7 separate regions of the Homo sapiens genome follow, and all the other regions are linked to region 7. The links are contacts of gene promoters, found by promoter capture Hi-C in blood cells and fetal thymus (Javierre and others, 2016). All regions are on one chromosome and are shown on one strand. The core of a region is centred on a gene start or on the middle of the fragment in contact, and the rest is flanking DNA. Distances in the headings are between cores, read along the strand shown.

Region 1 (3,361 bases), core at 814-3,313, 450 kb after region 7:
AGCTCAGTTTTGGACAGGTTAAGGCTGAGATGCCAACTGCAAATTCAAGTAAGTGGGCAAGAAGGTGACTATGTGAGGCTGGAGTTCAGGGGAGAGGCTGGAGGCATAAATTTAGGAGTCACTGGCAAAGAGAATGTATTTAAACCAGGCACAGGACACAGTCCCAAAGGGGAGTGGGTGTAGTTAAGGGAAGAGAAGGCACTTTTGTATTTAGAGACTGGGAAGAAAAGTGGGAATCTAAGCAAAAGAAAATGCCTTCATCTCTTGCTGCCTTTAATTTTTTTACATGAAAGAAGTCTATACACTTTTTTTTAAAGAATTGGTGTCAGGTTGAGAAACACCACTTTCCTTAGAAAAGAATGAAAAAGGCATCTGTTATCATATTTTAATCTCAGTGTCTGGAAGGTGCCATGACTCAGGCTTGGCTATGTTGAAGCACATTAATCTACCTTAAATGATATTTCTTACCTTTGCAGTAAGTTTAGCTTTGCCTCCTGGGTGGTAGTTACCAGCCTGTCACAGCTTACAATTTATGACAGGTTTGTGTCATGGTGAGCATCTTCTTTTCTGGCTGTTCATTTCTGTTGAACACTGCCTCAGATGTTAATTCAAAGTTTGGGCTCGTTGAACTTGGTTGGTGAGCTTAGACACCAGGTCATTAGTGCTTTTATAGATCTCAAAGGAAAGTCTCAAGGGGTTGAGAAGATGTCACTGATAGTAAGTACTGAAGCTCATTTTGCTTCTGTTGATGCACTGGTTCCCCTGAACTGGGATAAGAAGTCTTTGCTGTAGAGGGAACTCCTTAAGAATCCATTAGGTGATTTATTCCAGGGCCCATTCACTCTAGATTAAGCTCTTCTACTCATACACAAAATAAGGGTGTTACTTGTCTGGTCAAATTCTTGTTTGAGGAAATGAGTGATTTCTAACTAAACTTGCCTTTCAGATTCTGTTGAGAGTAATTTGTTTTTAAATCTTTCTTTTAAGCAGCTGGCTAATCCTGGCACCCATCCTCCCAGAGGTGAAAGCATATTGGGTTTTTTGGGGGCGGGGTGTGTGTAGGGGTGGAAGTGGGGGGTGGTATATTTATGACGAACAAAAGCAAAGAAGTTTAGAACTTCAAAGGGAGTATAAAGATGATCTGGCCCAACACCATCATTTGACTGAGGAAGACAAGCTTTGGTCACTTTCTCCAGACTAGGGTTAGCTGTTAGCAGAATGTGTACTAGAATGCAGGTGTTCTAAAGTCAAGGGACTTCTTTTTTAATTGACAAACATTATTTGATCATTTGTACTGTGTAATATTTGACATATACAGAATAATATATGTATATATGTGAACTATGAAGCCCAATAATAAAACAATCCCCCGTGGACCCACCATCCAACTTACAACCTAGACCATTACCAACATTGCTGCCCACCGTGGTTACACATGTAACCACACTCCTAAGATTACTCATATTGATGGGTACATCTCTATGTATTTTTTTCATTGCTGTGTAATAGTCACTGTATATTTCATTGTGGAATATACCATATCAGAGCCCAATTTTTTATTATAAAAGTTTTCAAACATACAGAAAAGTAGGAAGAATAGTTCAGTGAACACCAATGTACCATTCACTTTGACCCAATAATTGTTATCATTTTACCATATTTGTGTTATTTTTCTGAGCACTTCAATGTACATTGGAGATATCATGACCCTTCATTCCACATAGGATTCAGCCTGACTCTCTTTCTAATGGTATTCCCCTGCATAAGTATCATTATTACACTTGAGAAAATTCACAAAGTGTCCATGATAATATCTGTTCAATAGTCCATCACCAAATTTTCCCAATTGCTTCAGGAATGTCTCTTATAGATTTGCATTTTCAAATCAGGATCCAATCAAGGTTCACATAAATGCGTTTGATTGTTCTGTCTCTTTTAAGTCTCTTTTTAAAGATCTCTAAAATACCCCATCTTTGTTTCCCAAGCCACTAACTTTTTTTTTTTTTTTTTTTTTTTTTTTTTTTTTTTTTTGAGACGGAGTCTCGCTCTGTCGCCCAGGCCGGACTGCGGACTGCAGTGGCGCAATCTCGGCTCACTGCAAGCTCCGCTTCCCGGGTTCACGCCATTCTCCTGCCTCAGCCTCCCGAGTAGCTGGGACTACAGGCGCCCGCCACCGCGCCCGGCTAATTTTTTGTATTTTTAGTAGAGACGGGGTTTCACCTTGTTAGCCAGGATGGTCTCGATCTCCTGACCTCATGATCCACCCGCCTCGGCCTCCCAAAGTGCTGGGATTACAGGCGTGAGCCACTAACTTTTAAAAAGATTTAGGCCAGCTGTCTTAGAGAGTGTGCCACATTCTAGATTTGTCTGAGTGTTCCCTCATGCTACTATTTAGCATGTTCTTCTGTTGCCCGAATTTCCTATCTACTAGGGCTTAGGTCTTAAGGTATGGTTAGGTTCAGGCCAAACAGTTTTGGCACGGATACTTCATATAGATAGTGCCATATATTTATGTTGTATCACAGCAGGTGGCATGTGCTAACTAGCTTGCCCTTTAGCAATACCAAGTTTGATTGCTTGGTTAAAGTGGTGCCTCCTCCATCTTTCCATTGTAAAGGTTCATTTTCCCCTTTGACATTCATAGCCCCCTCTCTTGTGAATAACCTCAAAGTCAGTACCTTCATATTTAATTTTTCAAGTATCCAGTTGGTTTCTGTGAATGGCCAATATTCATGTACAGCCATGTCTAGGGAACACAACTTAAGATCCATCTGGAAGTGCTGTTTTTGTTTAAGAGCAAGTGAACAAGATAAGACTGATTTTTCTTGTGTGACTCAAAGGGTATTTCTAAAAGAGTAATTGGACAAATATTTTAAATAAACATATAGATGGCCATTGTTATTACTTTAACAATATTCATTTGTAGGTATACATTTGTTTGTTTAAAAAATAAGCTTGGGCTTTATAATCATACTGTTTGTTAAGTACGACAATAAAGTTGTACTTTTTAATCTATATTGGCGAAAGCTTATGACCCAAGTACATGGGAAAATAAAAGATTACCTTTAGAAACTGAAATAACCCTGCCTGGAGATAGTTTCCCCCTCTCCTGATGGCCTCATAAATAATGTATCTTATTGGAACAGAATTTAGAAAAAGTGAATCATACTCTGCATATGAGTTTTCAAATTCAAAGTCCACCCAGCATTAATAAATGTCTGTTTGAATTACCCAGCAGGCCTTCAGCACTCATTTACTAAGGGAGAACTTTCAGAACAGCAGTCTTTTCAAATGCATTCATTCATGTTTTCGGTTTTTTCACAAATTCCCCTCTACCCAGAATGACTTTCCTTCCATGAAT
Region 2 (3,580 bases), core at 286-2,785, 400 kb before region 7:
CCCTCAAGCCTGAGTGACAGAGTGAGATGCTGTCTCAAACAAACAAACAGACAGACAAACAAACTGGAGACATTACTGATTTGAAAGAATCCAGTGACATCAAGTTGAAAGCAAGAACAGGAAATATTGACTTGTGGAGTTGAAGGTGAAGGTCAATATTTCTGGGAAACCAAGACAGGAACACAGAGAGAAGTAGTCACAGTCTAATCAGTCAGTCTTGTTTATAGGTGTTGCTGTGTTATATATAGAGAGAATATTATGGAAATCTGAAGAGTCGTCCTCTTAAATCTTCACCTGGATAATGATTAGCACATGCTCTTGAGGAAACTATTCAAGGCTAGAGAAAGAACCACCCAAAATGACTGGAGAGAACATTCATTGAAGATTACACAAGACCAGGAATAGTTTCTGTTCTCATTATTCAGAATGAAAAACCTCATAATCCTAGGAGCATCAGCTAGAATACTCAGAAGGATTGGATAAGAGCCCTAAAATAAATGCTGCCATGATCCCATGTAACAAAGCTTAAGTGCAAGATCCTAAAATATTCAAACTGTTCCAGGTAACTTAATTGTGTCCCAGAAGAAAGTTCAAGGATATTTACAGAAGTACAAAGATATCCAGCACATAGAAAAGTAAAATTCACAATGTCTAACTGTGATCAATAATTGTCAAGCATATAAACAGGAAAATATTACTCATAATAAAGAGAAAAATAAATCAATTGAAACTGACCCAGAAATTATACAGATAATACAATTAGTAAACAAAAACACTGAAGCAGTGAATTACAAACTTTTTTTTGTCAAAGAAGCTAGAGAAAAGAGCGAGAATGTTAAGTAGAAATATGGAAGAGCCTAAATCAAAATTCTAGAAATGAAAATATATTTATGAGATGAAAAATATATTAGATGGGATTAACATAAGATTAGACACTGCAGAAAGAAAAGATTGGTGGACTTGACAATAGAAGTTATCCAAAATGAAACACAAGGAGCAAAACTCTGGGGCAAAAAAGGGCATCAGCCAAATATAGATACAACTGGAGTCCCAGAAGGAGATGAGGAGGAAGGTAGGAAAAGAATTTTGAGAAATGGTTGAAATGTTCAAACTTTGATGAAATTTTCAAACTCACAAATCCAAGAATCCCCACACACAGGAAACATGAGTAAAGTTATAAAGGACATCATAATCAAATTACTTAAAACCAGTGAAAAAAAGTAAATATTAAATGTACTCAGAGAAAAAAAAAAAAGGCAAGTAGTCTTGTTAAAAAAAAAAAAAAAAAAAAGCGAGCCAGAAGATAGTAGAGAAACATCTTTAAAGTATTGAAAGAAAAGACAATCAACCAGCTGGGTGCGGTGGCTCACGCCTGTAATCCCAGCACTTTGGGAGGCCGAGGCGGGCGGATCACGAGGTCAGGAGATCGAGACCATCCTGGCTAACACGGTGAAACCCCGTCTCTACTAAAAATACAAAAAATTAGCCGGGCGTGGTGGTGGGCGCCTGTAATCCCAGCTACTCGGGAGGCTGAGGCAGGAGAATGGCATGAACCCAAGAGGCGGAGCTTGCAGTGAGCCGGGATAGCGCCACTGCAGTCCAGCTTGGGCGAAAGAGTGAGACTCCGTCTCAAAAAAAAAAAAAAAAAGAAAAAAAGAAAAGACAATCAACCTAGAATTCTGAACCCAGTGAAAATTTTTCAAAAATAATGTGGGAAATAAACCCCACTTTTTCACATCTACAAAGCAAAAAGAGTTAATCACCAGCAGACATGTACTACACAAAATATTAAAAGAAAGTCATTTAGGCAGAACAAAAGAGGATAAAAGATGGAAATCTGGTTCTACCAAAAAGAATGATGATTATTGGAAATGGTATCCATGTGGCTAAATATAAAAGACTTGTTCATTGCTTAAATCTCTTTGAAAGATAATTGTTTAAAGCAAAATAATAACAATATATTAAAGGGTTTAAAAGATAACATATTCTAAACGTTTCTGCACCTAAAAACAGAGGTTTAAAACACATGAAGCAAAAACTGATAGGACTTCCAAAAGAGATAGACAAATCCACAGTGATAGTCATAGATTTCTCCTGACCTTCTCTCAATAACTAGTAGAACAAAGTGGCAAAAAATCAGTAAGAATATAGAAGATTTGAACAACGCCATCAACAAAATGATCTGACATTTATACAACACTACACCTAACAACAGCAGATACATATTTATTTCCTTAAGTGTAGAATATTTATTAAGATAGATCATATTTTGGGGAATAAGGCAAGTTTTACTAAATTTAAGAGGATTCCAATCAGTCATACAAATAATGTTTTCTGACTACTATGGGGTTGAATTAGAAATCAATAAAAGAAAGATATCTGAAATATCCTCAAATATTTGGAGTCTAAATATACATTTATGCAAGTGTATTGCCTATTCAAAAATTAATATGAAGTTTTGTTTTTAAAGAAATGAGGTCAATTACCTTACACAGCTGACAAATAGTTGTTAAGGTGATTTCAAAGAGACATTCGTCAAAATATTCTAAGCTTTATTTGAATAGATATGTGTTCTCTCAAGAGTACCACCTTGAAGGAGAATAGTCTTTTGGGTGTATAAATTTGGTTAGTTTGCTAGAAAACCAGACTTAGTCCTATATAGGTCACACACTACCTATACAAAAACCCACAAAAGTTATTGAAAAAACAAAATTAATACTCTAGCAACAGACTTGCCACCAGAGCTGATATTCTTTTTTGTTTTATTTTGTTTTTGTTTTCCTTTTTTTAAATTTTATTATTATTATTATACTTTAAGTTTTAGGGTACATGTGCACAATGTGCAGGTTAGTTACATATGTATACATGTGCCATGCTGGTGTGCTGCACCCATTAAGTCGTCATTTAGCATTAGGTATATCTCCTAAATCTATCCCTCCTCCATCCCCCCACCCCACAACAGTCCCCAGAGTGTGATGTTCCCCTTCCTGTGTCCATGTGTTCTCATTGTTCAGTTCCCACCTATGAGTGAGAATATGCGGTGTTTGGTTTTTTGTTCTTGTGATAGTTTACTGAGAATGATGATTTCCAATTTCATCCATGTCCCTACAAAGGACATGAACTCATCATTTTTTATGGCTGCATAGTATTCCATGGTGTATATGTGCCACATTTTCTTAATCCAGTCTATCATTGTTGGACATTTGGGTTGGTTCCAAGTCTTTGCTATTGTGAATAGTGCCACAATAAACATACGTGTGCATGTGTCTTTATAGCAGCATGATTTATAGTCCTCTGGGTATATACCCAGTAATGGGATGGCTGGGTCAAATGGTATTTCTAGTTCTAGATCCCTGAGGAATCGCCACACTGTCTTCCACAATGGTTGAACTAGTTTACAGTCCCACCAACAGTGTAAAAGTGTTCCTATTTCTCCACATCAGAGCTGATATTCTTTACCTTTCTCTCAGGGAAGGCAAATAAATTGTTACATTTGTTGTTGCTTTTGTTGAATTGCTCAAATCTTCAACAAGTACTGATCAAGCACTCAATATTTGCCAGGCACCATATAGAGCAATAG
Region 3 (3,581 bases), core at 570-3,069, 500 kb before region 7:
AGAAAAATATTTTTTATTATTGTCAAAACTATAATATATGATCAATACTAATTAGTCAACATGAATGTTAAGGTTCTTCAGTCTCAAAAAAGGCTTATGCTGTTAATATATGATAGCTACCATTGCAAAGTACTTTATAGATATTAGCTCAATTTATCTTCACATCAACCCAACAAGGTAGATAATATTAACATTATTTTATCTATTTTAAAAATATTTGATACATCTGGGACAAAAAACAGTGAAATAATTTTCTCAAAGTTATACAACTAATTAGTAACAGAGCTGGGATCCAGTATTATGCAATGTATTCCCTTTTAATGTAATGAGACCTGAGCTTTTTTCCCCCTTGTTAGATGTGTTAGACAATTATTTTTTCAAGTTTACATAACTGACAGATTAATCAATTAAACAAATGTGGGAGAAATAAAACCCCACATATTCAGGTAAGCATGAACACCTCGGGTTACAAGACTTTAATTTCAGATTCCAAACTCTATTATTCTCAATCCTTCTAGTATCTTCACCCCAATCCTTTTAATACTCAAGAATGCAGTGGACATTGCTTAGAAATTTAAGACAATGCCATGAGGACAGGGGCTTTTTGTAAGACCACTGCTGGCCAGTGTGGCTAGATGAATCTTGTAGCCATTTTTCTTGGAGGGTTTGCCACATCCTCGGAATTGCTGCCTTGCATGCATGACCTGGGTCCACACTACTCCTGGACCTGCAGACCTCTTTTTGTTTTCTCCCTGCATTTCTCACCCCATCTCTCTTAGCTGGAGGCAGTGAAATGGAGGCCTGGCCATCACTTGCTCTCCCCACCTCTCCAGTTGCTCCGTCTATATTTAGGAATCCCATTCATGTACCTACCAAACTTACTCCATTCACCTAAGTGTTTAGGCCTTTAGAGAATAAAACCACAACCACTGGTGCTCTACTGCTGCCTTACACCTGGCCCCAACCCTTCCCTGAGCCCATCAAGTTTGGAGCTAGCTGCTTTCTTGAATGGAAGAAAATGAGGGGTGAGGATAATGCCAGAGACAATATAAGTCAATATCTCAAAAGATAATCAAATCTCACAAACATTTAGGAAGTATGAGAACTGTCTTAAATCTGAGGGGCCATGGGAATGGGGTGGAGGGTGCGAAAAAATAAAAAAAATTGTGTCTGTTTCTAGGAGCTCATAATCTATTAATAGTTGGGATAAAAAAAAATAAACATCTATGAAACTGTCAGAAAACAATGCCAAACTCGAGATCCCGCCACTGCACTCCAGCCTGGGCAACAGAGCGAGACTTCGTCTCAAAAAAAAAAAAAAAAAAAAAAAAGAAAACAATGCCAAACTTTGCAACAGAAATTCAGAGAGGAGAATTATAAAGAGCTGAAATCACAGGAATATTAAAGTATTTTAACAATACCTACTGCCAAATTAATTAGATACTCCCACTGCAATTCAAAAATATTTACTAAGTATGTGCTATATACCAAGCACTCTAGTGAGTCTAGAAACACGAAGAGGAAGCACAGTTTTACCCTACAGGCAGAGAGGGTGATGATGACGAGGGTGATGATGTGGAAGAGAAGAGGGTAAGACATTGGAAAATGCATTTTAAAGGTTGTAGTTTTGAGCTGGGTTTTAAAGAAAGAGTGGAATTTTGCAGTGGAATTATGATGAGAGAAAACACTATGTGCAAAGGCAATGATAGAATTGATCCAGTTTTGAGCCATTCCTTTTCCATCAAGCTTGGGATTGAGTCTTGTTAGTAAAATCAGACAGCATTTGTGGAGAGAAGGGGTGTTTTCATCACATACACCTTGGTTAGAGACCTGTATATAAGACATGAAGGAATACAAAGCGATCCTTTGAGGATGAGACTTGAAACAGAGACCAAAGCTTGCAAAACCATCTACATTATGACTGAAGCAGACAAATGATTTAAGGTCAAAATTGTGTAATACTTATTTGTTTGAATCCCTGTGTTTCAAGATAGGATCATGGTCAGGTTGATGAAACAGTAACTCTGCAAAGGCCCTAAAGGGCTAAAGAAGAGACCACCGACTATTCCAGCAAGTTTGGAAGAATCCATGCTAAGATCATCTTATAGACTAATTCCAGCCCCCGGGCCCTACCAGTAGCCTACTCTTAGCTCCCCTCCCACTTTTTTTTTTTTTTTTCCAACAAATTCCCTGGTTCTTTTGTTTTGTATTTTCCCTTGCTGCAACAGGTTAAATCAGTCTCACTTTTTTCCCTCCACACTACCGGTGTGTTCCTGATGGTCTCTGGACAGAGGGTTTTATTAAATGAGGTCTCATCAAGATTCATCTGAAACCCTTGCTGCTATGGACCAGGACTTGCTGATATCCACAGCTGAGAGCCTTTGAGTCTCCGCTTCCTTGAGGCTACTTAGAAGCCAAGTCTCACTACCAATATGAGCTCCAAATATTTTGTCGAGCCGTTTAGCACTAATTTATTGTGTTTGTCTCATGGATGAAATCTCCCAGGACTTTTTGTTTGCTTTCTCATATTTGTACTTGTTCTCTTGAAGCTGTGCCAAAGTATTAATTAGCCACTAGTCCGCCTATTTACTGTCTGTGTATGGACCTCCACAAGCACAGGGGCTCTTGTCCTTTTGTTGGGGATGAACATTTGTTGAATCATTTGGCACGACAGAACCTAGTAGTAGAATGTCACACTCTGGAAATCATACATTTTTGGCAACATGGCCAAAACAGTAAGACCAGGATCATTATGGAAGTTTGAAACATTTTCCATGTGCCCCACAATCAATTGAAATTTCTTTCTCTTCACTGGAGAAAGCCAGCTACCATGTGATGAGGACACTCAAATGGCCCCAGGAAGAGGCTCATGTAGCGACGAGCCTCCTGCCAACAACCAGCATTAACTTGCTCGTCCTGCAAGTGGCTGCTATGAAAGCAGATCCTGAAGCCTCAGTCCAACCTTTAGATGAGCTGCAACATCATCTGAGAGACAACATCTCAACTGCAACCTCCTGAGAGACACCAACCAGAACAGTCTAGCTAAGCCACTCCCAAATTTCTAACCTACAGTACTCCGTCTGAGAAAATAAATGTTCGTTTGCTTTAAGCCACCAAGTTTGTGTAACTTGTTATACAGCAACAGATAACTAATACAGCAGGTAGCTAATACCAGGACAGATCCCTAATACATTCGATAGCTAGCGTCACGTAGCCTTTTCATTTAATTTGGACATGAATGGCATATCTTTGCCAGAGTCCGTAGAATTGGTCCCATATCTGCTTATTATTAAGGTAATGGTTTGGGAAGCACCACAACCATTGGTCAGGAGTGTCTGCTAATCACCTAGAATCTTGAACCAGCAGAAAGCTGAGGCCTTGTACTGCTTCTTCTAGAAGAGTCCATTTCTGATGATAGCTGGAGCCAGGATAATTATAGGAAGAAGCAGGAACACCTGTGGACACTGAGTGTGTAGTTGGCATCTAAGACGGCTCCTAATGATGAGCCACTTCCTAGTGTTCATGTCTTTGTGCAGTTCTCTCCCTTTGAATGTGAGTGTATCTACTGACTTGCTTCTAAC
Region 4 (3,459 bases), core at 560-3,059, 370 kb before region 7:
CAGGAGTTCCTACAAAACAGAAAGGAAGCTTATTTCCCCAAATGCCCAACCTAGGTATCTGTGTGTCTCACCAGATCAAAATGCCCAGTCCTGAATTGAGCCAAATGCCTGGCCATTGTGAAGTACTGAGTGGAGTCAAGTTACTCCAACTAGGATAAATTATGCTATGTTTGCTGTGTTGTTTAGTGCAGTAGCTTCAGTTCTTAATCCAATGTCCGGCATATAATAGGTGTTCAATATATATTTGTCAGTGACCATATAAATTAGTTATTAATAAGTAACTTCTGGGAAAAACATCTGGCTGGGAAAAACCATCATAATGATTTATGCTACTGACATAGCCAGACACCATCAAACTACTCTTTGTTCTTCAGTTACTTGTGTGACTGGTAATCTGCTAGGTCACCTTGCCTTTCAAGAGGCAAATAAGTCAGCTCAAACCATTATCACATATGGGCTGGGAAACCCAATATCCATCCCAAACTCTCCTGAGAATCTTTGAGAAATTTTGACTTTTTGCTCATCACTGATGGTTGTGTACTCTCAATTCCACTAGGTTAGTTTTCCCTGTGAAGCATATTGCCACGTTCTGCACACTCTCCTTCTCCTATGCTATGTGGTATTGCACAGGACACAAGATTGATTTCTTTCTACCCTCAAAGTACTAGCAATGCAGGACAGTATGTGCGGCAAACTTTTTCTAAGGCTTGGGATAGTAGAGTGAGCTTACATCATAGACCCACAAACAACTTGAAATGGACTAGTAGACAGCCTTGTTTTAAAATGTCCCTCAGACACACTGACACTGGGAATCTCAACAGTTGCTATTTCTCACTAGATATTTTTCTCATGAGTTCCAGTCTCCTGACTAATGGGTCAGTCCTCCCTTCCTTGACTCATCTTCTCCACCCTCCTCCTTTCAAACGCCTATTAACTTTACATGTAAATAATTTCAATTTTCTGGATTGATCTATTGTAAAGCATCTAACTGATCTCCCATCTTCCATCCTCCCTATCCTAGAGTCTATTGGTCATACAATAGCCAGCTACAACGTAATCTTAAAACATAAGTCTGACTGTGTCACTCTCCTGCTCCAAACCCTCCACTAGCGTCTCACCTAAAATAAAATGCAAACTCCTTGCCACAGCCTGCAAGGTCTTACATGCTCTGGCTCCCATTTGCCTCTCTGACCTCATCATCTTCCACTCTGCTCTACCTGCCCTAGTTTGCTTGTTATTCTTTAAATACAGTAAGCTCATTCTACTTCAGGGCCTTTATCCTTGCTATTCCCCCGTGTATATTCTTTATGTTTCTTCTCTCTGTCATCATTCAGTGTCTGCTCAAATGTCACCTTCTCAAAAGGGCTATCACTGAATTAGCTATCTATAGTTGCTCTCCCTTCCCTTCATTTCCTCCAGAGCTCTTACCACCATCAGAAATCTTGTTATTTATTTTAAAAATGATTTGTTTGTTGCCTGTCTCCCTTTATTAGAATCGAAGTGTCATGAGGGTAGAGAATGTCTTGTCTTCTTCACTTGTATATCTCAGGGCCTACAAATGTAGAAACAGAACCTGGTAAACATAAGCATTCCCTATATATTTGTTCAGTGAATAAATGAATGAGTGAAGTAATATTTTTATGTCACTCTCTCCTTACTGAACTTGTAGTTAAAACTTTAACTTCTACATTCAAAGGGGCCAATAAATTGGATTCACTAAAAAAAAAATCTATTTCGAATACAAATTATGTAATTGCATTAGGAGTCAGCCATGGCTAGAATCAATTACTGCTTTAAAAAAATATTTTCTCTCTCTTGCACATGAAAGGATAGATACACAAAAACTTAGAGATACAAAAAGTAATCAAATATATTGAATAAGACATATAATTTATTTAAACATGCATGTCTTTAAAGGTTGCCCTATATATATACATCTTTTAAATATATGTGCGTATTTTAATGACATTATATATATAGGTTTGAATAAGTAATTGTATTCTTAATGAAACAGAAAAGGGCATTTTAATGGAAATATATGTTAATCTGTCTCATTAGCAAAAAAACAAAATCCAACACTATTTAAAGTAATAAAACAAAACCTGGAAGTAAAAATCATAAAATTCAAAATGTATGGCATCCAATAAAATATTATCAGGCATACAAAACAAAAACCAAGACCCATAATCAGAAGATAAACTAATCAAATTGAAATATATCCAGAAACGACAGAACTACCCCACAAAAATGTTAGACAGCTATTATAATGTGCTCCAAATGTTCAAGAAGGTAGAGAAAAGTACAATCATAGTGAGGAGAAACATAAGATATTTAAAAAGATTCAGATGAGTCCGGGTGTGGCAGCTCACACCTGTAATCCCAGCACTTTGGGAGGCCCAGGAGGGTGGATCATCTGAGGTGAGGAGTTCAAGACCAGCCTGGCCAACATGGTGAAACCCTGTCTGTACTAAAAATATAAAAATTAGCCAGGCATGGTGGTGGGCACCTGTAATCTCAGCTACTCAGGAGGCTGAGGCAGGAGAATTGCTTGAATCGGGAGGCAGAGTTCGCAGTGAGCTGGAAGTTGAGATTGCACCACTGCACTCCAGCCTGGGCAACAAGAGTGAAACTTAGTCTCAAAAGAAAAAAAAAAAAAAGATTCAGATGAAATTGTAAAGATGGAAAATGCAATATGTTAAATGAAAAATCCATCAGATGAAATCAAAGACAAATTCAATACTGCAGAAAAGAAAAAAAAATCAGTGAACTTGAAGACAAGCAATACAGACTGTTCAACATGAAGGACAAAAAAAAACACAAAAAACCACAGGGAAAAAAATGAATAGAGCAACAATCATCTGAGGGACAATGTTAAGAAGTATAATGTATGTGTTAATGGAGTTCCAGAAGGGGAGAACACAAAAGTTTAATTCTTTTGAAATGATTGAAAATTTTTCACATTTGATGAAAACTGGAAACAAGTTCAAGAACTCAGCAAACCCCAAGCAGAATAAATATAAAGAAAAACACACCAAGACACATAATAATAAAAAAAGATAACCAGTGATAAAGGGAAAATCCTAAAAGAATCTGGATGGAGGGGGTCCAGAAGACACACTACAAACAGAGAAACAAAAATGAGAAATACAGCAGACTGCTTCAAAAGCTATGGAAGCCAGAGACAATGGAAAGACATCTAACCGCACAGGAAAACAAAAAAAAAGAAAACCCAAATATATCAACCTAGAATTCTGTATTTAGCAAAAAGACCTGAGAGAATGTTACTAGATTTACTGCTCTATATGAATGTTAGAGAAAGTTCTTTACATCAAAAGAAATTATATCAGATGTTAATTTAAATCAATACAAATGAATGAAGAGCTCTGGAGATGGTAAAAATATGCATAAATAGAAAACATTTTTTATCAGTTTGAAACTTCTTTAAAAAGAATTAACTAA
Region 5 (3,210 bases), core at 55-2,554, 480 kb before region 7:
AATGTAATTGTAGGAACAAATTTCATAAAGTATCTTCAGTCTTACATAAATCTGTGTAAATCACAGATCCCTTTAAATGCCGTTTGGATAGCAGAGCTCTAGCTGGAACTGCAACCTGACTTCCCTCTGGAGCTTCCTGAAGGCAGCTTGCTGATTCCCTGGTGGAACCCTTGCCTTCCCAGACTGACCAACCCTTGCCAACAGCCATCAGTTCTTTCCAGATAATTCGGGACAATGTCACCCCCTTTGCTGTGTCAAGAACTTGCCCCTTGAATTTTAAAAGCATCTGCCTTTCATAAGAAAACTCAATTTTCTGCTGCTGACTTATTTACACACAGAGTTGCAGATGCCTAAATTGAAGTGACTTGTTGCTATTCTTGGCTGTGAACAGGCTCTCTCTGTTGAAAACTGAAAACCTGTGTGGTGGATGGCACGAGTCCTGTTGAATGGTGCAAACGTCCCCTGCACAAAAGCACTATTAGGATGAATGAGAAATGACAAAGTGAGAACTGGACATAATTTGTTAACAGCTTCCGAAGTTGATGAGGATCAATGAAGATCCTCTTGGAATGCAGGGTATCCATGTTCTTCTTTCAACTTGCACATCATAATAAAATAATAGTTTGTGTTTGTACAAATGTATAAAATAAGTAAGTATCATGTTAAAGACATAGATCTGTGAACACAGAGCTGGTAAAGTTTTCTTTCTGCTGTTCACATGGGGAAAATCAGATGGCCCAATGTAGAAATGGACACTGAATTTGGTTGTCATCCAAATGGGTCCATGTCACTCTTCAAAATGTATCTCCAGTCCTGCCCCCTTCTCCATTTGTGCTGTCACTGACCCACCCTAGGCCTCTAGGATCTCTCACCTGGATGATGTCTGTACCCTGCTAAATTGTCCCTCTCATTGGCTTCCATTAATTTATCTTTTTGGACCATTGTCAAATTGTGATCCATATATTACCCATACCTATTATGTCATTCCCGTTTATAACCTTTTGGAGTTTTTTCTCACCTTACAGAATGAAGTCCAACTAAGACTCTCAGTGTCACCTCTGCCTGTTGCTCCAGGCTCAGTCCCACGCTTCTGTGGGCATCCTATGCTAATAGGTTTGCATTCCTCATGCTAAATGATCTCTGTCACCTCTGTGCCTTCGTTTCTGTTGCCCTCTCTACCTGAGACATTTTCCCCTTTCTCTTGGCTGGCCTAACTATTGATTATCCATTAAAATTCAACTCCTATACTGCCTTCTCCAAACATCCTTCCCTGGCACACTGTCCATCAGGGTAGGTAAGCTGCCCAGCCCCTTGTGGGCCCCCTAGTCCTGCAGGCTTTGCTCTCACTGCACTTGAATATTGGAGCATAGTAACTGCAATGTTTGGAGTGTTTTTCTCCCCTGCAAAGTTCACATCTAACCCCCAAATTGATGATATTAAGAGGTAAGGCCTTTGAGAGGTGATTAGGTCATGAAGCCTCCAACCTCATTAATGGAATTAGTGTCTTTATAAAAGAGGCCCAAGGGGACTTGTTCACCCCTTCGGCCATCTGTGAGTTGGAGAGCTAGCCCTCAAGAGACACTGAATCTGGTGACAACTTGATTTTGGACTTCCCAGCCTCCAGAACTGTGGAGATAAATTTCTGTTGTTTATGAATTATCTGACCTAAGATACTTTGTTATAGCAATCTCAATGAACTAAGACAGTAATCTAATTATGCATCCTCTGGTCTATGACATGCTTGAACACATAAACTGTAACTTATTCATTGTTGTGTTCTCACCCAAATACAGCACCACATCTGACATATAGTTGGTACCTCATAAATGTCTGATGAATGAATAAATGAGGCTGGATAGGCAACATGAGGTAAAAGAAGAGTTTATATTTTCATACTAGGTTTATGGGGTTTATAGTAGGTTTTAGATAAGATTTATGGTAGGTTTTACATAAGTTTATATAAGGCTTATAAGAAATATATGCTTATTTATAAATAAGTAGAATAATTAAAAATAATTTATAGAGCTTAAAAACACATTAGAGAGCATCTAGTCCTATGCTTTTCTTTTACAAATGGGCAACCAGAAGCCCAGAGAAGTTATGACCTGTCCAAGGCCCCACAGTAAGGTAATAACCTCTGAACAGATCCACATATAGTATTTGTGGGGCCCACTGTATGAATTGAGGTCTGTACAATATATGCTTTAATATTTATGTTCAAGTAAAGAATATCACGATTCCCTAATGGCACATTTAACCATACATATGTACAAATTAAAGAACACAAAGTGCTTAATATTGTAAACTGTTCCTCAGCCGCCATGTGAAACTAAGGTAAATACCACACTAACTCTTAAATATTTCTGGAACCACCAATTCAAAGTTGAAGAGGAGCAAGAAAATTGCAGCTCAGCACTACTGGGAAGTGATACTTGGTTTTGCGATTTGAAAGGACTTGACAAGTTAATTAATTTGTCTTTTTCTTTACCAAAGTGCTCCTGCGACCTAATACTCCCCATATCCCAAAGCATCGCCCATCTCAGCTGTCAGCAGTGGCACAGCCTGCAAGACTTCATGGCATTTGGTCACAGTCCTTCTGTCCTGATGACATCAGGCGAAAGAAGTGCCACAGTGTTTCCCTGGGGCCTGAAGAGTATTAATCACACAGTCAGATGTTGGGCTGTGTGATACCAGGACTGAGTATCCATTTGTTGGTTAATAAGTGTGTGTGCTTATGATATGGGAAGTCCTCTAAAGCCAAGGGCCCAGGGCAAGAGTCCCTCTTGCCTCACTCTATGAGCAATATTAAATGGGAAAGAAATTCATACACAGTAACTATCAAGCTCGCCATTAAAATGCCCTATTAAGGTATTATCTGAGAATTTAGAAGAAGGTAATAGTGCCTTAGGGTACCTAATACAGGTTTTTTTACATTCTTATGGCATTGCATTTAGGATCATCTAAAGTATAAAGGCCTAAGGGGAAAGAACAAGAAACTGGGAATTTGCAGTCCTGGATTGTTTTCTTAAATCTACTAATTACCTACTGGGTAACTTTGAGAAAACACAACCTGTTAATGGTTAGCCATTTCAGTTTCTCTACCCATAAAATAAGCCATAAATTATCTACACCCATGCAAAAGTGCTGGGAGAAGAAATGTTCAAATGAAAGGTATTGTAAAATTATAACATGGTTTTACAAAGTTTAAAA
Region 6 (3,382 bases), core at 261-2,760, 460 kb before region 7:
ATCCACCCCAGAAGTTTCCATAAAGACAGTTTGATAAATGCCTACTTACAGGTTACAAGCAGGTTAAAGAAACAAACAAGGGATGTTGAGGCACCCAGAGACTAGCGACAGTGGGAAGCTGTTCTTGTACTTCGGCCTAAAGAACAAGAGGAGGAAATAGTGCTGCTTGAATCCAGTGTAAGCTAGTAGAGGCTACAGCCACTGTCAGAGACCCACCCAGGGAAGGTAGGAGCCCTGGAAGAAATACTCTGATTGCTATCTCCTTCCACCCCGATCTCCTGCTGGTGCTGCTCATTGGACAAATTTCAATGTAAGCCAGTGTCACGGGACCCTGGGTAACAAAGCCTATAGGGTTCAGCTTCCCAGGACAGACCAGCAGGGAGAAAGGCCAAATATTAATCTGTTTAGCATAGTACTCTTTATACTCAATGATCTTGTTCAAAATTATGTCATTATTTGCCAGGGCTTATGATAAATTTGCAGCCCATTATCCTGGCGCTTTCTCTTTATCCTGACCTCCTTTGTGACTCTGTGATCTGCACATATATTCTCGGTCCTGAACAGTTTTCTCTGTGCAATGCTAACTCTTCTCTGTTGAGATTAATCCCGATCTCCATATCAACTAAATAAATTTTAAAGTTATGAAAACTGTGAAAGTCCTTCTTCACTCTCATGAAATTTTAAATTCATAATCTCTTGGCTTGGCATAGTTTCATTACTTCAAGGACATTAAAACATTTTACTTTCATTATCTCATAGATTTTTTTACCATATCTCTCTTGGGTAGGCATCTTGGTATAGTACCTAGTACAGTGATACATGAAAATAGACGTTTAATAAATGCTTGCTAAAGGGATGATCACCATCAAATGCCCCTTATGCAGATACGGGAGCTCATGCTGAAAAGTTAAGCAACCTGGCCAATATCTCGTGATGTGCCAATAGGGATATAAACCAAGTCAGAGGGCTTACCCTGAATATGCTCTCTCCAAACTGAGATTTTGCTAAGCAGGGCAGGAATTTGAAGAAGGGTTCATTTTCTTCCTGTACTTTGACCCAATGTTAACAACAGTTGAGATAGACAGGGCATGGTTTTTCAACTGATTTGTTTACTAGATTGTCAAAGAAATATATGCCCATTACTTTTTCTTAATCATTAGACATGAAATGTCATCAACAGGAACAAAAAGTTGAGCTATACACGTATAGGAATTGAACTGAACTGTGATGGTTTTTTATTTCCGGGATGAGTAAAAGGAAAAATAAAGTGGGGATTTAAACCTAAGATTTACCTGGAAATCAGTTACAGACAGCTTTTTCTTATCAATGGAAATAAAGGACAGGAAGGAGCTGAAAAAGTAAATGTTTACAGTTTTATCTCCACAGCTGTTATAAACTCATCTTCAACCAAACCTCCCACTGTGTTCCAAAGTTCTCAATGATGATTTTTCTTGCATGTCACTGTCTTACTAAATATCTGGTGGAGGATTCATATAGAGAAGGAAAAGCTGAGGGACCTGGATTCACTGCCCGCCAGATCAAATCTTTGTGGAATAATACCAATCAGGTAGATTAAGTTTTGTAAATAGGGTAAGTCATCCATTGCCATGAAAACATTTGCAGATGAGGTGGGTCTGTATTTTTGGAAGCACCCTCGGTGCCTTCCTTTGGAGAGTGTGCTACCAGCCGACATAATTTGTAGATGGTGTCTTGTGTGCACAGCTTCGTGGTGGGTGTGATATTATAAGAGAAACCAACTGAGACCACCGTTTTCAGAATCACATTGATTTTAAATCAGTTATACCCAGTTTCTAAATAACTTATGTTCTTTGACTGGGTATTATCTTTATTTTCTTCCTCTTTCTCTTCATACTCAGAATCACATGGAATCCTATTTCCTACATAGGAAATATTCCTGTCTCTTGAATGTGACCTTTATCCTCACCATCTCCTTTGCTTAAACCGGGTTACTATCTACCAGTTCTCATGTGGGCCATCACAGGCCATATTCTTAATTAGCCTCTCTCTCTCCACATTCCCACCTCAACCTCCTTCACAAGGCAAACATCTTTGTTGTTTAAAAATACAAATATATTCAAGTCCACCATTGCTAGCTTAAAATGCTTCAGAGGTTTCCCATGGCCTTGAAATTCAAACCTTAACATCATTCTCTTCATGCTTTTTAGCTTTCCCTCACACTATTCTGTACCTCAAATTCCCTTTTGTCCGCAAAATAAAGCCCAAAACTCAAGGCCTGTCATAATCTGATCACAGCCTGTTTCTTCAGCTTCATTTTGTACTACTCTCTTCTTTACCATCTATATCCAGGGGTGAAATCATTGAGGCTCCAGGGAAATATCTTTGTGGCATGTGAGTAAGAGGAAATTATAGAAGACATTAGTTACAACTGAGCTACCAAACTAGATAATACACTTCCTAAAACTGATGATATTGAAAGGGCCAAAGCTAAACATTCTTTCTAGGAAGATGTTATTTACCAAATTAATGATGAATTTCCTTAAAGCCTTATTTGAATCTTCCAATATTCTTTGTTTTTCCAAAACACAAAAACTAATCTACAAACTACTCTAGATGGGTTGAGAATGAAGTGAAATAAAACCCGAGTCAGATAGCAAACTTAATTGTGGGGCTACATTCCATCCAGAGAAGAATAATAAAAACTAGCAACAAAATTTCTTGGAACTAACATTTCAGGTCTCTGCCACTTCAGATGACCCCTTTATCTTTCATAGACAGATAAGACATTATTGCAAAAAGGAGGACGCTTTGTCTTCCAGATGGAACCCTAAGAACTAAGGTCCTGCTTGCCAAAGAATCATGGCTCAACATGTTGAGTAACCAAGACTTCTTATCTCTTATCTCTTCTCCAAAGATAGTACTTTTATTGCTACAATTTATGCAAAAACTTTCAGGCTAAAATATATATGTGCATATACTTATATGCGTGCATATGTATATATGTATAAAGATAGAGACTCAAGGGAAAATATTGATAGAGAAAGAGATAGATAGATAGATAGATATAAATGGAAATTTAATATGGAAGGTCAACTATTAAATGACTTGTCTATACCCAGCCTTTGCCACATTATTCTAAGCATAGGGAATAAAGGACAAGGTTCTGTTCCTAGGAAAGTTTACAATATTTGATGGAAGTTGGGCCTGAGGGAAGGAGAAGCATTATGGGCAAATGTTGGAGGGGGTGAGGTGGGGAGGTGGCTCAGATTTGCCAACTGCCTACTATGAACAGATGCTGTGATTAGATCTGTTATATGAGGGTATCTCATTTAATTCTTACCAAATCAGTGCATGAAAGTGATATCTCTGTTTTCCAGATGAGGAAACTGAGGGTTGGAGGAAG
Region 7 (3,595 bases), core at 507-3,006:
AAGTGAAATACTCTTTAACATCTGCAAGTGAGACTGTTTGAACAGCAGGCCAGCCTTCAGTATGACTACATTGTTTTTCTGTCCATTGTGGTGCTGACTCAGCATCAGTTAATAAACCCTCTTGAGCAGGCTGGATTTCTCTTGTTTAATTATCAGCTTGGAGCTTTCTGAGGACTCTTAGGAATTGTTCATTCAGTTTTCCACCCCCAGCAGATCTGCCTTCTAAAAGTCCTGCTTCCTCTTGGTGCTAGCGTCCCCTCTGGCATAACATGCAATCACAGGTGGGCCACGCAGCAAGCAGCGAGTGTGTGCTAATCATGTCCCCTAGTGGGAATTTAATTGTTCTGTACTGAGAGAGAGATTGCAGCAAGACTTTAGACACCATTTCCTGGCAAATAATCTTTTGCCTCTCCCCCTCTCCCCTAAAAAAAATTCTAGAAAAGTTTTCTAAAAGTGAGAAAAGAAATTTTAAAGATAAACAGACATATTTTTTAGGATTGAGTTGGGCTTTTGTTTTGCTTTGTTTCATTTCTTCCTGTAAACAAATACTCAGATGTCCATTTCATTGTATGACTAAGTTGGTATCATTAGGTTGGAACTGGGTGTGTGTATGTGGGTGTGTGTGTGGGTGGATGTGTGTGCACACGTGTATTTAAAATGTTAGAAAAGACATTGCAGGTCGAAGGAGAAATGATTTTAAAAAAACCTACCTATGGTAAGGCAAGCAGGAAAAATGGAAGACCTGGATTTCAATGATCTAAATAATAATTGAAATGGGGTGTTTGCTATAAACATTGTTTCTCTGAATTAAAGGATTCCTTGCTGAAGGCACAAGACCATTGAAGGAAGTAAAGCATCTGGTTTGTTTTGTAATGAGAAGCAGGAATGCAAGGTCCACGCTCTTAATAATAAACAAACAGGACATTGTATGCCATCATCACAGGATGTCCTTCCTTCAACAGAGGACTGACTGGGCTGGAGGAAAAGCTGGCCGGGGCTCAGAATAAGCCCCACTAATTACTGCCTCCGACCGCTTTCCACTTGCAGTGATCAGTTCAATATTCCTCTGAACTGTGAAACGACTAATGCTCTACATTTTACTTACACTCCTGGGAAGTCAGCCTGTGGGTTCTGGGAGGAGAGGAAAGGAAAACAAACAATCTGTAGAATTATAACTTTTGCCTATTTCCCTATTTACTAAATAGTTAAAAGAGGAAAGTTAGTTCTGCCAAGTTTGAACGTTAGCAGGAGAAACGGAATGTTACAACTTTTGGGGCGGGGGGCGGGGAAACGTGCGTTACATACACAACAGCTTGAGGACCAGACAGCTCCACTGTATTACACTAGCTGCAAAAACAATTTAACTTGCTCTTTTGAAGTAAGATTTGTGTCTTTTGTACCTGGGGATTTGAGCTGAGAAATCAGAAACTGTGTAGGTAAATTTTAAGTTTCCTTAATTTAAGGAACGTGCGCCCCCTAATTCTGCCGCGCCAGGAAGGAGGGCGATCTGGAGTGTTTAGAATACAATAGAGCCCAAGTAAGCGTTGAGGTTAAGTGCCTTCAAAGGGAAGTAAGAAGATTCCAAGTCAATGTTGAAATACACATGCGAAGAGAGGAAGCTCTCGGCGGCTGTGCTAGCAATCTGGGGGAAAGCCCTGGGCTCGGCCAGGTGGTGTTGGCCACGTTGGCCACGCCCCCACTTCGCGCAGCCGAGTGGCTAAGGAAATCTTAAGCAGGGAGGGGAAGCCAGACGGTTAACACAGACAAAGTGCTGCCGTGACACTCGGCCCTCCAGTGTTGCGGAGAGGCAAGAGCAGCGACCGCGGCACCTGTCCGCCCGGAGCTGGGACGCGGGCGCCCGGGCGGCCGGACGAAGCGAGGAGGGACCGCCGAGGTGCGCGTCTGTGCGGCTCAGCCTGGCGGGGGACGCGGGGAGAATGTGGACTGGGTAGAGATGAACGAGACTTTTCTCAGATGTTGGATATTTGCTTGGAAAAACGTGTGGGTACGACCTTGGTAAGGAACTTGAATTTTTTTTTTTTAATTCTGAAATTGATCTGAAAACTTTATTTTCTTTTCCTTTATTGTTATTATTATTAATTTTTTTTGGCTAATGTCGCAGTAGAAACATGCTTCTGCTTTAGTGCACTTAGTGCTGTCAAACATTTGTGAGACTTTCCTTATGAATCATTAACCCTTTCAGTTCTAGACATAATTGCCAATTCATTGAAATTTCAGTAGTGGTTCCAGCTCACACTCGTCAAACTATTCCGGGTTGGCTGAAGTTTTCTATTTTATTTTATTTTTAACATGTGTTTGGCGTCATGACTCTACATGTTGGAACTAAATAAAAATAAGCAGGTTTGCTTAAATCATAACTGAGGGAAAAACAACTTTGCATCCAACTTTTTTTTTTTTAAGAGCATCCTATTTAGAGAAGTGGAAGAATGTAAAAACCTCCTTGAAGGACTTCCACAGAATGTTATGTTTACATTTGAACAAACACACATTCTTACATGGAAATGATACCCATATTCCTCATTTTTATCAAACATGTCTATATGAGAAAACCCTTACAGAAGTTGTTTACCTTTTTTTGCCTTTGGAAAACAGTTTTTTTCTGAGTGTGAGGGAGGATTTTGGGGGAATATCCTCATCAATGTACAAGTGGAAGCAGAGCTTGTCCTCCAAGTCTTCTAAATTTGTTATAACTTTAGTTACAGTAAACTGTAGTACATCAGTGACTTCTGGGAATTCATACACTTTCAGATTTAAATGGAAAGTGCTATTTGTAGCTGAGGACTCCTAAAGGAATTCTCTCCAGGGAATTTTATTAAACGGTTTTATGTTTTGTTTTTGCCTTTTCAATTTGGTATGAGATGCTTGCAAGTCAGAAGACACTGCAGGCTGTTTTCCCCTTCACCCATTTTTCCTCCTCTTTTCCTGTGGTCCAAGTGATTTCTAAGAGGCCGTAGCTCAGTGATGCTGGCAGGATGCAACCCTTTTCAGTCTTCCATGTGAGAGGATGAAAGAGAGCTCGCAGCAGAGGGAGGAGGCAGTTGTTTTGAAAGTTGTTTTGCGTTGGGAGCTGGTGGGAAAGTTCGGTCTTCCCCATTTGGAAAAGGCAGGCTGGGTTCCGCTCCTGCACCACACGCGCTTTCCATTTTTAGCTTCATTCAGAGGCAGACAGAGCTCCTTCCTCTTCCTCTCCTTGTTTGTGACACTTTTCTGAGGCAGCTTTTCCACAGTGCCGAGGGTCTGGCGGCCATGACCCCAGGCATTCTGGGACACTGGACTGTGTGCCCAGAACATTTTTCTGCCATGAGAGGTAAAGCCAGGGATTGTTCAGAGGTGATTCTTTTTTTTTTTTTCCTTTTCCCCACAGTGAGGTTGCCACATTCTTTTTTTTTTTTTTTTTTTTAACTAAGAGTAGCATTTAAAAACCTTGCTTCTTTTCAAGGCAGTTTACTTTATACGGCTTCTTGGCTCTTTCTCAACTGTACCAAGCACTCTGCATCTGCTTTTAAAGTCTTCAGACTACTGTATTAGTCATAGCCTCTCAGAAGGAGCCACAGGAACGGCGGGACAATGGGGA

The links. The method cuts DNA at HindIII sites, captures the fragments that hold promoters and counts their contacts. A CHiCAGO score of 5 or more calls a contact.
Region 1: a fragment that was not itself captured here is called in contact with the fragment with the promoter of PRDM1 in region 7 in 1 of 17 cell types (activated CD4 T cells); the score reaches 6.3 in activated CD4 T cells.
Region 2: a fragment that was not itself captured here is called in contact with the fragment with the promoter of PRDM1 in region 7 in 1 of 17 cell types (monocytes); the score reaches 6.8 in monocytes.
Region 3: a fragment that was not itself captured here is called in contact with the fragment with the promoter of PRDM1 in region 7 in 2 of 17 cell types (M1 macrophages and M0 macrophages); the score reaches 5.9 in M1 macrophages.
Region 4: a contact is called between a fragment that was not itself captured here and the fragment with the promoter of PRDM1 in region 7, in 7 of 17 cell types (activated CD4 T cells, M0 macrophages, monocytes and 4 more). The highest score is 8.3, in activated CD4 T cells.
Region 5: a contact is called between a fragment that was not itself captured here and the fragment with the promoter of PRDM1 in region 7, in 4 of 17 cell types (M0 macrophages, M1 macrophages, monocytes and 1 more). The highest score is 9.3, in M0 macrophages.
Region 6: a fragment that was not itself captured here is called in contact with the fragment with the promoter of PRDM1 in region 7 in 1 of 17 cell types (M0 macrophages); the score reaches 5.4 in M0 macrophages.

Annotation. Positions count from the first base shown.
Region 1 is chr6:106,533,765-106,537,125 of GRCh38, forward strand. All of the region lies in intron 8 of CRYBG1 (crystallin beta-gamma domain containing 1), which reads left to right. Among named protein-coding and RNA genes, the nearest start is that of RTN4IP1, 94 kb to the right of the region's middle. The HindIII fragment of the contact is 1,777 bases long and covers 1,176-2,952 here.
Region 2 is chr6:105,680,870-105,684,449 of GRCh38, forward strand. No RefSeq gene overlaps it. Among named protein-coding and RNA genes, the nearest start is that of LINC02836, 50 kb to the left of the region's middle. The HindIII fragment of the contact is 2,026 bases long and covers 523-2,548 here.
Region 3 is chr6:105,580,950-105,584,530 of GRCh38, forward strand. No RefSeq gene overlaps it. Among named protein-coding and RNA genes, the nearest start is that of LINC02836, 50 kb to the right of the region's middle. The HindIII fragment of the contact is 151 bases long and covers 1,745-1,895 here.
Region 4 is chr6:105,710,566-105,714,024 of GRCh38, forward strand. No RefSeq gene overlaps it. Among named protein-coding and RNA genes, the nearest start is that of LINC02836, 80 kb to the left of the region's middle. The HindIII fragment of the contact is 3,567 bases long and covers 27-3,459 here.
Region 5 is chr6:105,604,322-105,607,531 of GRCh38, forward strand. No RefSeq gene overlaps it. Among named protein-coding and RNA genes, the nearest start is that of LINC02836, 26 kb to the right of the region's middle. The HindIII fragment of the contact is 4,818 bases long and covers 1-3,210 here.
Region 6 is chr6:105,621,439-105,624,820 of GRCh38, forward strand. It overlaps LINC02836 (long intergenic non-protein coding RNA 2836), which reads right to left. Exons shown (of 6, transcript XR_942833.3): 3 at 1,293-1,350; 4 at 50-136. Among named protein-coding and RNA genes, the nearest start is that of LINC02836, 9.2 kb to the right of the region's middle. The HindIII fragment of the contact is 4,504 bases long and covers 1-3,382 here.
Region 7 is chr6:106,084,580-106,088,174 of GRCh38, forward strand. It overlaps PRDM1 (PR/SET domain 1), which reads left to right and starts at 1,757. Exons shown (of 7, transcript NM_001198.4): 1 at 1,757-2,016. The coding sequence starts at 1,975. RefSeq lists enhancers at 138-207, 1,385-2,104. The HindIII fragment of the contact is 5,820 bases long and covers 1-3,595 here.